Regions from separate parts of the Homo sapiens genome. Here all the other regions are linked to region 1. Evidence: promoter capture Hi-C in human tissues and cell types (Jung and others, 2019). All regions are on one chromosome and are shown on one strand. The core of a region is centred on a gene start or on the middle of the fragment in contact, and the rest is flanking DNA. Distances in the headings are between cores, read along the strand shown.

Region 1 (3,483 bases), core at 475-2,974:
ACTCATCTCTAGGGCTTTCTTTCATCATGTTGCTGTGTTAAAATAACCCCTTTCATTAGAAAGAGTGGAAGACATAATCAATTAGAAAGTGCCAATAAAACATCTCTTCCTTGCCTCATTTCTTTAATAATATTGTAAAATGAAATGCGACAAAAAGGTTCTTTGACAATTGTGAATTTTTATTCCACTCAAAACATAATACTACATAAAGTTGTATTATGCTTTGCAAGAAATACTGGTTGTGGCCGGGCGCGGTGGCTCACGCCTGTAATTCCAGCACTTTGGAAGGTCTAGGCAGGCAGATAACGAGGTCAAGAGATCAAAACCATCCTGGCCAAAATGGTGAAACCCTGTCTCTACTAAAAATACAAAAATTAGCCAGGCTTGGTGGCACGCGCCTGTAGTCCCAGCTACTCAGGAGGATGAAGCAGGAGAAACGCTTGAACCCGGGAGGCGGAGGCTGCAGTGAGCCGAGATCGCGCCACTGCACTCCAGCCTGGGCGACATAGCCAGACTCCGTCTCTAAATAAATAAATAAATAAATAAATAAATAAAAATAATACTGGTTGTATAAGAATCTGTAAAGAATTTTTTCCTCCTCTTTCAATTTTGAGAAAATTGAACTACAAATTTGTTTTGTGAGCCTAGAATTCTTGCAACCCTTTTTTTCGTAAAGGTTCAGTAGAGCTAATGCCCTTAACTTTTCTACCAGGGTTAATTTCTGTTATTTTCATTTATGTACTGCCAAAGCGAGCACCTTTCTGTTATTTTAGAAGTCATGCTTTTTTTTTTTTTCTTTTTTCAGACAGAGTTTCGCTCCTGTTGCCCAGGCTGGAGTGCAGTGGCCTGATCTTGGCTCACCGCAACCTCCGCCTCCCGGGTTCAAGCGATTCTCTTGCCTCACCCTCCCGAGTAACTGGGATAACAGGCGCCCGCCACCACGCCCGGCTCATTTTCTGTATTTTTAGTACAGACGGGGTTTCACGATGTTGGTCAGGCTGGTCTCAAACTCCTGACCTCAGGTGATCCGTTCGCCTCGGCCTCCCAAAGTGCTGGGATTACAGGCGTGAGCCACCGCGCCTGGCCTAGAAGTCATTCTTATGGCAGAAATCTTTCTGGCCTTACCCCTTCTCTTGAGTTCGTTGGGATAGGTCTTGGGAATCCACAAATCCTAAAATATGCGTGCCTTAAGTCGGCACAAAATAGATTAATATTCTGCGCGTCTGTAAGATTGGCTGCGGCTAGAAACTCCTTCCCAGACGATTAAATCCACTAAATAAAATACGAAACGGTAACGAGATAATTTTTAAGAGTATGCACCAGTGCTCTAATGAAGCCCGGTTCTGCGGCATTCCAAGGTAAGGACGCTGCCTTACCCAGTCTCTCAGCAGTCCTAAGCTGCCTTCGACGGCCGAGAAGCGCCTCGATTCTTGCCCCTGGCTCATTTCCCTGGCGCGTTTTCCAGACGCCTCCGCTCCCAACGCTGGGCTCAACCCTGTCTTCCCCAGCTGGTCTCCCAGCACGTGGCCTGGAGCCCAGCCTCCCGCCCCGCTCGGTCACGTGAGCCTGGCTCTCACCCGCGCCGGCTTCCACACCCCGCGGGACTGAGAACCGCCCTCCCACTAGCTCGCAGGCGCAGGCGCAGGGCAGGGTCCCCTCAGTTTGGGTGACGGAAGGGGCGTGTCGCAGCGCCCAAAGATGACGTGTTCTGCCAGCGCCACGTCATGAGGAAGTGCCGGCCCACTGAAGCCGTGGGGACGCGCCCAGCGGAGCTAATCAGGTGCCACTGAACTGAAGGGGTGAACTAGAGGAGAAGAGGGTGACTGGGCGGGGAGCAGCTGCGGGAGAAGCAAAGGGACGACTGAGGGAATAATCAGGAGACCACTGAGGCGTGAAGTACTAGGCGTGCGATAACTGAAGGAGTTAGTAACTGGGAGCACAGAGTTGGAAACAGCTTAGGGGAAGATGGAGAAGGAAGAAACGGGGAATGATCAAGATGTGGGCACCATGATGTGGCAGGAAACCGACTTAGATGTTCAGAAGAAGTCAGTGCAGATACGGAGGAAATGGGAATGGGAAGAAGTCTGCAAAGCCAGGAGAACCGAGGAAAGGCTTTTGCCTCCAGAGGTCACATTGCGTTATAAAACTCTGGGTGGTAAAAGATTATAGGCTTAGACCAGTGTCTTTGGATTCTAATGCTGGCTGCTCTCCATAGTCCATCTGATTCCCCAGAAGTCAGTTATAGCTCTTCGCAAACCTTGGTGACTTCTTATTTTCTTTCTTGTTTATCCAAGATTACCTGGCTGGTGTTTGCTTGTTCTGGAGTGATCTTCTGACTGGAAAAGAACTATGTCATGGATCAAGGAAGGAGAGCTGTCACTTTGGGAGCGGTTCTGTGCCAACATCATAAAGGTGAGCAATGGCCCAGAGCACCGGTTGGCCTTCTGGTCAGTTGGATAATCTTATATAAAAACCTGTTATTAAAGTTGATGATGTTAAGTGCAATTCATGATGTTAAGTGGAATTTAGCAAGGAAACCAAAGAGTCTTAGAATGGTAACTTCCAGGTCTACATTTCTGGTAGACTTTTGTCCTAACTCTGATATTTTCTGGAAGCCCAGGCCTCTTAATGTCACTGGGCAGCCTAGACTGCTAAGTATTCTTTATAGAGAACTGAAATTTGTTTCCCTGGAACATTGATCCATTGTTCCATGTACTGTCTTCTTGATTTAAATAGGTTAATCTTTGATATATTCTTTGATCTGTCAGTAGAGCTGGGCCCGGTCACTCACGCCTGTAATCCCAGCAATTTGGGAGGCTGAGGTGGGCAGATTGTTTGAGCTCAGGAGTTGAGACCAGCCTGGGCAACATGGCAAAACCCCGATTCTCCAAAAAATTAAAAAAATAGCAGGGCTTGGTGGTGTGCACCTGTAGTCCCAGCTACTCGGAAGGCTGAAGTGGGAGAATTTCTTGAGCCCAGGTCAAAGCTGCAGTGAGTCATGATTGTGCCACCACACTCCAGCCTGGGTGACAGAACGGGACTGTCTCAAAAAAAAGAGTTCAGAACAAGACTCTGTCTCAAAAAAAAAAAAAAAAAAAGAGTTTGGGCTCTAGACGCAGACAAACATGGGTGAAATTCCTGTTCTTTTTTTTATTTTGAGATGGAGTCTCGCTCTGTCGCCCAGGCTGGAGTGCAATGGCGCAATCTTGGCTTACTGCAACCTTCATCTGCCAAGTTCAAGCAATTCTCTTGCCTTAGCCTCCCAAGTAGCTGGGGTTACAGGCATATGCTACCACACATGGCTAATTTTTATATTTTTAGTAGAGATGGGATTCTCATATTGGCCAGGCTGGTCTCGAACTCCTGACCTCAGGTGATCCACCTATCTCAGCCTCCCAAAGTGCTGGGATTATAGGACTGAGCCACTGCACCTGGCCTGAAAGTCCAGTTCTATCATTTAGTAATCATGTGACTTTAACAACT
Region 2 (3,483 bases), core at 359-2,858, 450 kb after region 1:
AGCTGAGATTGCACCATTGCACTCCAACTGGGGCAACAAGATTGACGGTCCGTCTCAAAAAAAAAAAAAAAAAAGGGCCAGGTGTGGTGGAGCATGCCTGTAATCCCAGCTACTTAGGAGGCTGAGGGAGGAGAATCACTTGAACCCTGGAGTTGGAGATTGCATTCCAGCCTGGGCAACAACAGCAAAAGAAAGTCCATCTTAAATTTAAAAAAAAAATTGCTCCTCCCCTCTTTTGCTGAGCACATGCAGTCCAATTGGCCTACATTAACTGCAGGTGTGACGCAGCTCCTTAGTACCTTCATCAGGGACTGCACACTCTACTGCCATCATTTATAAGTCATTCCTCCAACCCCGACCCCATGAGCTTTGTTTCCCACATATGGCTCGAGAAACATCAGTAAGTGTTGGCTGGAATTATTTTCCTCTATACCCTAAGACTCCTGAGTCCCCCTTGTCTCCAGCATGCTGCATAGATGCTGAATCTGTGAGAGCATCAGCCTAGAGGGCCTGGACTTTTCTGTCCTGCTTCACGCATGGCCTCTGTGACCTGATGGACACCTACCCATGACCTTGGCTCCAGCCTCATTAGTCACTAACCAAGCTCCAAAAGTCTGGCTGCCTCTTGGACAGCTCTGGATGTCCCATGGACCCCTGAACACAGCACATCTGCCAGCTCTTGTCCCTTTCATCCATGTGACAAACCTGCTCCCTCCTCCTTTTCCTGCCTCAGTGATTAGTACAACCACCCACCGTCTAAGCCAGAGATCTGGGAAGCTAAGTTCTACTCCAGCTCCATCTATCCCATTCAGTCACTGACTCTTACAGTCTATCTCCTTAGTATTTTTCCATTCTACACCTTTCTTTCTATTCTCACTACAAATCTTTCAACCCTTCTCACCTAGCAAGACTGTAAAACTCTTTTGCCCCCAATCACGTCCCTTAAATGCATTTTCCACAATTGCAGGGGCTTTTCTAAAATGTACATCTGATTGTGTCACACCCTGTTCAACAGTACTGCTTGAATACTTGCTCCCACTGCCCACCCATGAACTGAAGTCCACATTCCTTAGTAGGGCACTCAGGCCCCTCCCTCGGCAGCCCTGCCTGTACCCCTGCAACGCCCTTTCCTCTTCACATGCAACACACCAGGAACTGGACTCCTGCATCTCTCCCGAATGACTAATGCCCTCTCATTTCTGGGCCTCTGTATTTGTTACTCCTATTGATCAATATCCTCTCTTGTCCTCAGTACAACCAACTCTGAAGCCAAGGGACCACCTTTGCACATGAGAGACAGTCATCAGGAAGCCCAACTGATCAATATGAAATCAGTCATCCACGGCCGGGCGCAGTGGCTCATGCCTGTAATCCCAGCACTTTGGGAGGCTGAGGCAGGTGGATCACCTGAGGTCAAGAGTTCCAGACCAGCCTGGCCAACATGGTGAAACCCCGTCTCTACTAAAAATATAAAAACTAACTGGGCACAGTGGCGCACACTAATACCAGCTACTTGGGAGGCTGAGGCAGGAGAATTGCTTGAATATGGGAGGCAGAGGTTACACAGAGCCAAGATTGCGCCATTGTGCGATCCAGCCTGGGCAACAAGAGCGAAACTCCCTTTCAAAAAAAAAAAAGAAAAAAGAAATTGGGTGGATCACAAGGTCAGGAGATCAAGACCATCCTGGCCAACACAGTGAAACCCCGTCTCTACTAAAAATACAAAAAATTAGCTGGGCGTGGTGGTGGGTGGCTGTAGTCCCAGCTACTCAGGAGGCTGGGGCAGGAGAGTGGCGTGAACCCGGGAGGCAGAGCTTGCAGTGAGCTGAGATCGTGCCACTGCACTCCAGCCTGGGCGACAGAGCAAGACTCCATCTCAAAAAAAAAAAAAAAAAAAGAAATTGGTCATCCACAAGGTTGATGACTGCACCTCCTGTGGCCATTCTTGAGTCCCATGTCTCACCCTCTCTGCTATGGCCAGGAAGCTGGCAAGGATACGAAGAGAAATGGAAGTCGGCTCCCATTGCGGCAGACATCATGGCTTCCAAGCTTCGCTGCTCTTGGGCTCTGAAACAGTATCCATTGGCTTTATCCACAGCCTGCAGGACTCGCTGGATGCTCTCCTTGTCCTGAGCAGGGAGGAGAGAAACAGTTCTGTGAGTGAAACAGAAGTATGTAAAACTGCTTGCAATCTCTAAATACACCTTCCTCCATCTTGCCTCTGTACCTGTAGCTTTCTTGGCCTGGAGTAGTTCTACATGTCCCCAAAGGCTGGATAAATCTCATGTTTCCTGACCACCAACTCACTCAGATTAGAACAGATAAGCTCCCCTATGCATATCCACAGTCCCCTGGGTTTACACCTATTGTACATGGTATCCCTGCCATGTAATAAACGCCTATTAACTCACCTGCCTCCCCTACTCAACTAAACACCCCTTAGGGCCAGGTCATCTGTCGCAGTATTCCCAGTGCCTGGCACAGTACTTCTCTTAAGTAGACATCCAATGAATATGCATGTTTTAAATCTATAACTGGGCCAGGCACGGTGGTTCACACCTGTAAAGCCCAGCACTTTGGGAGGCCAAGGCAGGTAGATCACTTAAGGTCAGGAGTTCAAGAGCAGCCTGGCCAACATGGTGAAACCCTGTCTCTACTGAAAATACAAAAATTAGTTGGGCATGGTGATGGATGCCTGTAATCCCAGTTACTTGGGAAGCTGAGGCAGGAGAATCGGTTGAACCCAGGAGGCAGAGGTTGCAGTGAGCCAAGATAACGCACTGCACTCCAGCCTGGGTGACAGAGTGAGACTCCGTCACAAAAAACAAAACAAAACAAAAAAAAACTATAACTGTTTCCTCATCCACATACAGTGATAAGAACAGTCCATATATCACATGGTGGGAAGGACAAAGCAAAATTATGTATGTGTAGTCCTTAGCACAGTGCCCAGCACAGAAAGCCATAAATAAGAGGTAATTGTTGTGATTGATATTATAGAGTTCATCTCCTCATATCAGAAGAGTGTGGCATTAGAAGGGAGGAGACAAGTTAGCTCAAGTCCACCCACTGCAGAAAGGAATCTAACATGCACCTGCGTCTCCCAGGTTATCTCTGCAGGGTAAAGGTGAGAGGCACAGGGGTTGGGTACCACTTTGCAAAGTCAACAGACAGTTGCCCAGTTGAAAGGGCTTAAGAGACTTGTCCCTGGTCCTGGTGAACTTTCTTGCTGATGACTTTCTGAACTCACCCATTTTCACAGAGGACAGAACATGTGAAGAGAGGATCCAGCAACACAAAATAGACAGGGCAAAAGTTTGGTCCACTCTCTTTACTGGAATTCTGCCCCTACAGCAGCCCCTGGTCCTGAAACTAAGGTTACTCTCAGTGATACTCAACCCAGGGCAAAGACCACTCTTTTTTTTTTTTTTTTTTTGAGATGGAGTCTCACTCTGTCGCCCAGGCTGGAGAGCAATGGCGTGG
Region 3 (3,483 bases), core at 571-3,070, 350 kb after region 1:
TCCACATGCAGAACCCACCCTTTGAGCCAACTAGTGTGGACATGATGCGGCGGGCTGCCCGCGCGCTGCTTGCCTTGGCCAAGGTGGACGAGAACCACTCAGAGTTTACTCTGTACGAATCACGGCTGTTGGACATCTCGGTATCACCGTTGATGAACTCATTGGTTTCACAAGTCATTTGTGATGTACTGTTTTTGATTGGCCAGTCATGACAGCCGTGGGACACCTCCCCCCCCCGTGTGTGTGTGCGTGTGTGGAGAACTTAGAAACTGACTGTTGCCCTTTATTTATGCAAAACCACCTCAGAATCCAGTTTACCCTGTGCTGTCCAGCTTCTCCCTTGGGAAAAAGTCTCTCCTGTTTCTCTCTCCTCCTTCCACCTCCCCTCCCTCCATCACCTCACGCCTTTCTGTTCCTTGTCCTCACCTTACTCCCCTCAGGACCCTACCCCACCCTCTTTGAAAAGACAAAGCTCTGCCTACATAGAAGACTTTTTTTATTTTAACCAAAGTTACTGTTGTTTACAGTGAGTTTGGGGAAAAAAAATAAAATAAAAATGGCTTTCCCAGTCCTTGCATCAACGGGATGCCACATTTCATAACTGTTTTTAATGGTAAAAAAAAAAAAAAAAAATACAAAAAAAAATTCTGAAGGACAAAAAAGGTGACTGCTGAACTGTGTGTGGTTTATTGTTGTACATTCACAATCTTGCAGGAGCCAAGAAGTTCGCAGTTGTGAACAGACCCTGTTCACTGGAGAGGCCTGTGCAGTAGAGTGTAGACCCTTTCATGTACTGTACTGTACACCTGATACTGTAAACATACTGTAATAATAATGTCTCACATGGAAACAGAAAACGCTGGGTCAGCAGCAAGCTGTAGTTTTTAAAAATGTTTTTAGTTAAACGTTGAGGAGAAAAAAAAAAAAGGCTTTTCCCCCAAAGTATCATGTGTGAACCTACAACACCCTGACCTCTTTCTCTCCTCCTTGATTGTATGAATAACCCTGAGATCACCTCTTAGAACTGGTTTTAACCTTTAGCTGCAGCGGCTACGCTGCCACGTGTGTATATATATGACGTTGTACATTGCACATACCCTTGGATCCCCACAGTTTGGTCCTCCTCCCAGCTACCCCTTTATAGTATGACGAGTTAACAAGTTGGTGACCTGCACAAAGCGAGACACAGCTATTTAATCTCTTGCCAGATATCGCCCCTCTTGGTGCGATGCTGTACAGGTCTCTGTAAAAAGTCCTTGCTGTCTCAGCAGCCAATCAACTTATAGTTTATTTTTTTCTGGGTTTTTGTTTTGTTTTGTTTTCTTTCTAATCGAGGTGTGAAAAAGTTCTAGGTTCAGTTGAAGTTCTGATGAAGAAACACAATTGAGATTTTTTCAGTGATAAAATCTGCATATTTGTATTTCAACAATGTAGCTAAAACTTGATGTAAATTCCTCCTTTTTTTCCTTTTTTGGCTTAATGAATATCATTTATTCAGTATGAAATCTTTATACTATATGTTCCACGTGTTAAGAATAAATGTACATTAAATCTTGGTAAGACTTTTGTGAAGCTTTTTATTGTTTTCAAACTAAAACTTGACCTTTTGTCGGGGGGCAGGGGGATAGTCCTGTTTTTGCAAACCTCCCTTAGTGTGAGATCTCCCCTAAATAGTGGCATTCCTGGACCCTGTCATTTATTTACTATATTCCAAAATAAGACAACCATTTATCTGGAGGCAATCTCCAACTTAATCACTTATAATATCTCTGGACTGGCTCTTTTCCCTGACTCCAGACTAGAGCATTCAGCCACCTTTCTTGTCATCCCTGCTTGGAAGTTTACTTTGAACATGCCAAAGCTAAAATGTCCTGTCTTCCCCCACTAGAAACCTGCTTCTCCCATAGTTTTGGTTTTTTTGTTTGTGTTTTCCTTTTAGTAAATGGCAACTCCATTCTATCACTTGGCTAAAAAAATCCTTGACTTCTTTCACTTCCACATCCAATCTGTTAGCACTCTTCATAAAATAATCCTCAATCCCACACTACTGTAGTTCAAGATACTGTCATATCTTGGATTCTTGAAATACCTCCAAATTGGCCTCCCTGCTTCTGCTTTGCCTGGTTGAACCTATTCTCAACAGAGCAACCAAAAGGACCCCTATAAAAGGTAAGTCAGATCAAACGCCTTCAGTGCTTCTGACTCAGTAAGTAAAAATCCAGACTCTTAAAAAGTGGCCTACAAGGCCCTGAGTTATCTAGCTTACCTCTACCTTTCCTGCACCATCTGTCTTGCCCGTTGCTCACCCCACTGTATAGAGATGTTTCCACCTTGGAGTCTTTGTACTTTATACTCTCTCACCAAATAACTGCATGGCTCAAGTCCTCGACTGCTTCAAGTCTTTGTCCAAATATATAAGTAAGGCTTTTCATGGTCACCTTACTTAGAATAGCAATCTCTGCCCCCCACTATGTTTCCCTTGTCTGCCTTATTTTTCCTGTGGCACTTGTTACTGTCTGGCCTGTTGTGTGTTGTACTTACCTGTCACCTTCCACTGAAATGTAAACTGAGGGTGGTGGGAGGGGTGTTTTGTTCACTGCTGCATCCTGGTGCTAACACATAGACTGGCACATAGCATCTACTTAAGTAGTAGTTGAATGATACTGTCGATGTTGGCTAGATGCAGTTGCTTTTATGAGGCTAATGTCACAATATATAGTTTCTCTGTTCACCCCCTTCCTTAGGGAAACAATAGAGAAGCCTCAAGTTCCTCAGGAGAAATCAGAAGCAGAAAGAGAAAAAATGCTATCATTGTGGACACTTAGAAGTGAAATTTGAAACAAGAAACAACAGTTTTCTATTGTGTACCTACTTATATTCTGGACATAGCACATCACAATCCTACAACAATCCTGTGCCTGTGAAGTCAGTATGTGGCTCCCATTTTACAGTTGAAGAAAGAGGCTAAGAAAAGTGAAAGGCTTTTTAAGTTCATACACCAAGCAAGTTCCACCTGACTCCAAGGATCATGCTTTTCTTAATATACCACACTACCTCCTTTCTGGATGAGAACCCAACCCAGGAGTAAGGGATCTAGCTGTGGAGCTCAGCAAGCAAGATTTGTTTTTATTGTCTTTAGCACGAGGTAAAATTGTCCTCAGAATTTCAATCAAGTGTTCATCAGACTAAGTGTGGCTGTTAATATTTGGGTCAGGAACAGGATTTGAATAATTAGTATTTCTCAATTGAGAGAGGAAAACCTTTGTCAACCAAGATGCGTTCCTAGGATTCTTCTAGAAAAAGGTAAATGGGAAGCTTTTCATATCTACAATTTTGGTAAGCAATATTGCTAATGGCTATTTTTGTTCTAGGCCTCGAGCTCCGTTTGCTAGTCTAGAAATTGCATATCTGGGCTGTGTGTGGAGCATTACCTAGGAGTTCGGTTTCCTGGGTTCCTTTCATCTGCTCTCCTGCAATGCAGGG
Region 4 (3,483 bases), core at 720-3,219, 300 kb before region 1:
TGTACAGGGAATAAGTACCTAAACAAGGTTCAACAGTCTCCCTGAGTTGAGGAGACAGAATTTAGGGTTCAGGGAGCACAAGCCAGCTAGGATTCATGGGGCAGAGTATCAGAGAGAGAGAGAGAGACAGATGGTAACAAAGAATTCCAGACCTTGTTGTTTATTTTTTTTCTTTTCTTTTTTGTCCTGTTTTTTATTTGTCGGTGAGAGTTCCAGACCTTTGCAGAAAGTTTTTTTCAAGACATCAGCTGAGGCAGGGCCAGGTAACTCACATCTGTAATCCCAGTACTTTAAGAGGCCAAGCCAGAATGATCACTTGAGCCCAAGAGTTGGAGACCAGCCTAGGCAACATGGTGAAACCCTGTCTCTACAAAAAATAAAATAAAATTATCCAGGTGTGATGGTGTTTGCCTATAGTCCCAGCTACTTGGAGGCTGAGTTGGGAGAATCACCTGAACCCAGGAAAGTCAAGGCTGCAGTGAGCTGGAATCACCACGCTGCACTCCACCCTGGGCGGCAGAGCAAGACCTGCCTTAAAGAAAACATACACACTCACACACACACTCTCTCTCTCTCTCTCTCTCACACACACACACACACTCACACACTCACATTCACACACACAGTATCAGCTAAGTACTAATCAGTCATGCTTATGAAGAAACTATCAGACCTGAATGCAGGAAAGATCCCCTGAAAGGATTAGGCAGAACAATCCTGGAGCTCACACAGGACCAAGAATAATTGATATTTCCACCAGCCAGAACAGAAAGACCTTCTTCCAATATACAGAGCATCACAGAAGAGTATTGTCTCAGTAGTGAGGCCAAGGCTAACAGCTATTCTGGACCTGTCTATCCAAGCTTAAAAGTAAGTCTTGAAAGGTACACAGACAAAATTATAGCAAATTTGATTTAAAGATCTATATTGGCTTTTCTTTGTGATTCTAGAAAAAGGCAACACCTTATTCTATAAAATACAGTGAGTATTCCGATAAGCCAAGCAGAAAAGTATGGTTTTATAGACAGAAAAGGCCTGAGAAAAGCAGAAACAGAGAACAGAAAATTGTCTGGTTGTTTCAAAGTTACTTTCCTTATAGAGTTAAAACAGACACAGGCGTAGTGGGTTGCTGCGCCCTCCCAGGCGGTCCCAACAACTAGTGGACCAGAGCCCCCAGGGGACACAGCCTAAGTCCCTGCCCATCAGATCATCTGGAACTTCTGCCCAGAGAGGATCTGGAACTTCTGCCCAGAGAGGAGAGAGCGACTGGAAATTCTCTCAGTCAAGGTCCAAACCTAAAAGAATCACTGGCACGCCCAGCAGGACTAAGACCAATTTTTAATGAAATGTTTTCTGTGTTTGGGGTGCATAACTATATTTCTTTATAACAAAATTACTTAAATGTTTTGATTTTTTATTCCTCATATGCATGGCCTGTGACAGACCAGGGGACTTGTAAGCTCACAGTCCATGAGGTCAGAAGCTGACATCCTAAATGTCTATTTATAATGAATTTAAACAGACCAAAAACTCTGCTATGAAACTCGGAAAGACAAGCAATTTAGCAAAAATGAACCAGTCTCTAAATAAATAAAAAGATTAAAATTTAAAAATTAAAAACAACAACAACAACAAAAACAGAGGGAACTTCATTTTCATGCCAGCTCAGGTAAACTGGGCCCCTTTTGATTGGTTGCTGCGAATCTCCTGGGGGTATTTTTTTGGTAGCGGGGTGGGGGGTGGACTGGCCTGTTTCAGAGTTCAGTTTAATTATGTGGCACCCAGCATGAGTGACTCCATTCTGATTTGGCTCGGTCTGCTAGTGCTAGTGTACGAGGCTAGTCCAAAATAATGGTCTCCTATACATTTTATTTAACAAAATACATTTTTTTCTAAGTAACATAATGTGCTAGAACAAAGCTCAAAAATACTTGAGTCCAAAAATTCCACTTCTCAACAATATAAAATTCAAAATGTCTGCCAGCCAATTAAAAATATTAGAAATGGGCCAGGTACAGTGGCTCATGCCTGTGATCCTAGCACTTCGGAAGGCCAAGGCAAGAGGATTGCTTAAGTCCAGAAGTTCAAGACCAGCCTGGGCAACATAATGAGACCTCATCTTTACCGGGAAAAAAAAAAAAAGGAATTAGCTGGGGGTTCTGGTGTGGTGGCACATGCCTGTAGTCCCAGCTATTCAGGAGGCTGAGGCGGGAGGAGCACTTGAGCCCAGGAGTTGGAGGCTGCAGTGAGCCGAGATCGCACCACTGCACTCCAGCCTGGAGACAAAGCAAAACCCCAACTCAAAAAAAAAAAAAAAAAATTAGGACTTCTAATTTCTGGTTTGGCACAAAAGGAGCCTAAAAGTCACCACTCCATCCTAACAACAATTAAAAAGCTGAACACATGGAAAAATCAACCACTCTTCTTAGATATGTCAGAGCAGTGAGGTCACAGGGCAAACTGCTGCCCCTGTAATTGGAGAGATGCATTGGTAGATACAGAATATCACAATTTACTAGTGTGGAAAAGGTGCAGGGGTAGGAAAACCTAAACTGTAATTGATGAATTGCTTAGTATGGTCAACTCTGAGAGTTAAAAAGCCCAGGGGGACCCAATCACAGGAGGCTCCCCACACTATTACCTCCAGGAGCTCTGCCAGATCCTCACAGGTGCTCATTCTTCTGCTAACGGGAGGGGGAAAGGAACCATTTTGAAACCTGCCTGAACATTCTGTTCTTAACAAGGACAACCCTCAGGAGCAACTATTTTACCACAGCCTCATCTGTTGTGGTTTTATCAGCTGACCCTAACCTATCTGAGGGTATTCCAGCCCCCTCTAGCCATCCTGACCACCTAAGGGAACTTCACCAAGAGAAGCACTGGTGAAGTTCACAGTCCAAGGGCACAGGCTCACCTATGAAAAGCCCATGACCAAATCATAGGATTATAGAACACCCACCATCCCCAAATGTTACTACATTACTAAAGGCCTATTTATGGCAGTTCCTTTAGCCAGTACATTCCATCCACCTTTCACAAAAAAGTACAAGGGATACTAAAAAGCAAAAAATACAATTTGAAAAGTCTGAACAATCATCAGAATCTGAGTCAGTTATGGCAAGAATCCTGGAACTATCAGGCCAGGGATTTTTTTTTAAATTGTGATTAATATGCTAAGGACTTCAATGGAAAAAGTAGACAATATGCACACACAGATGGATAATGTAAGCAGAGAAATGGAAATTCTAAGGGTCAAAAAGATGCTAGAAATCAAAAACTCTGTAATAGAGATGAAGAATGCTTTTGATGGGCTCATTAGCAGACCGGACATGGCTGAGGAAAGAATTTCTGAGCTTGAACATATGACAAAACAAACTTCCAAAACTGAAAAGCAAAGAGAAAACGTCTAAAAAAATTTTTTTAAAGAACGGAATATCAAATAATTGTCGGCCAACTATAAAAGGTATAACCTACATGTAATGG

Evidence for each region. Contacts are between HindIII fragments. The study calls those that stand out against the background at their distance.
Region 2: a contact is called between a fragment that was not itself captured here and the fragment with the promoter of DHDDS in region 1, in 2 of the 25 tissues and cell types used here (dorsolateral prefrontal cortex and spleen).
Region 3: a fragment that was not itself captured here is called in contact with the fragment with the promoter of DHDDS in region 1 in 1 of the 25 tissues and cell types used here (hippocampus).
Region 4: a fragment that was not itself captured here is called in contact with the fragment with the promoter of DHDDS in region 1 in 1 of the 25 tissues and cell types used here (neural progenitor cells).

Annotation. Positions count from the first base shown.
Region 1 is chr1:26,430,597-26,434,079 of GRCh38, forward strand. DHDDS (dehydrodolichyl diphosphate synthase subunit) reads left to right here and starts at 1,725. Exons shown (of 9, transcript NM_205861.3): 1 at 1,725-1,780; 2 at 2,295-2,412. The coding sequence starts at 2,350. It overlaps LOC124903883 (a long non-coding RNA gene), which reads right to left and starts at 1,641. Exons shown (of 2, transcript XR_007065557.1): 1 at 1,377-1,641; 2 at 159-522. RefSeq lists enhancers at 944-1,480, 1,265-1,324, 1,395-1,454, 1,481-2,017, 1,555-2,044. The HindIII fragment of the contact is 9,291 bases long and covers 1-3,483 here.
Region 2 is chr1:26,882,162-26,885,644 of GRCh38, forward strand. GPN2 (GPN-loop GTPase 2) reads right to left here. Exons shown (of 5, transcript NM_018066.4): 4 at 1,999-2,129. Among named protein-coding and RNA genes, the nearest start is that of GPN2, 6.4 kb to the right of the region's middle. The HindIII fragment of the contact is 7,583 bases long and covers 1-3,483 here.
Region 3 is chr1:26,780,545-26,784,027 of GRCh38, forward strand. It overlaps ARID1A (AT-rich interaction domain 1A), which reads left to right. Exons shown (of 20, transcript NM_006015.6): 20 at 1-1,560. The coding sequence ends at 212. Among named protein-coding and RNA genes, the nearest start is that of PIGV, 5.7 kb to the right of the region's middle. The HindIII fragment of the contact is 6,774 bases long and covers 1-3,483 here.
Region 4 is chr1:26,128,204-26,131,686 of GRCh38, forward strand. No RefSeq gene overlaps it. Among named protein-coding and RNA genes, the nearest start is that of PDIK1L, 18 kb to the left of the region's middle. RefSeq lists a silencer at 455-749. The HindIII fragment of the contact is 7,689 bases long and covers 1-3,483 here.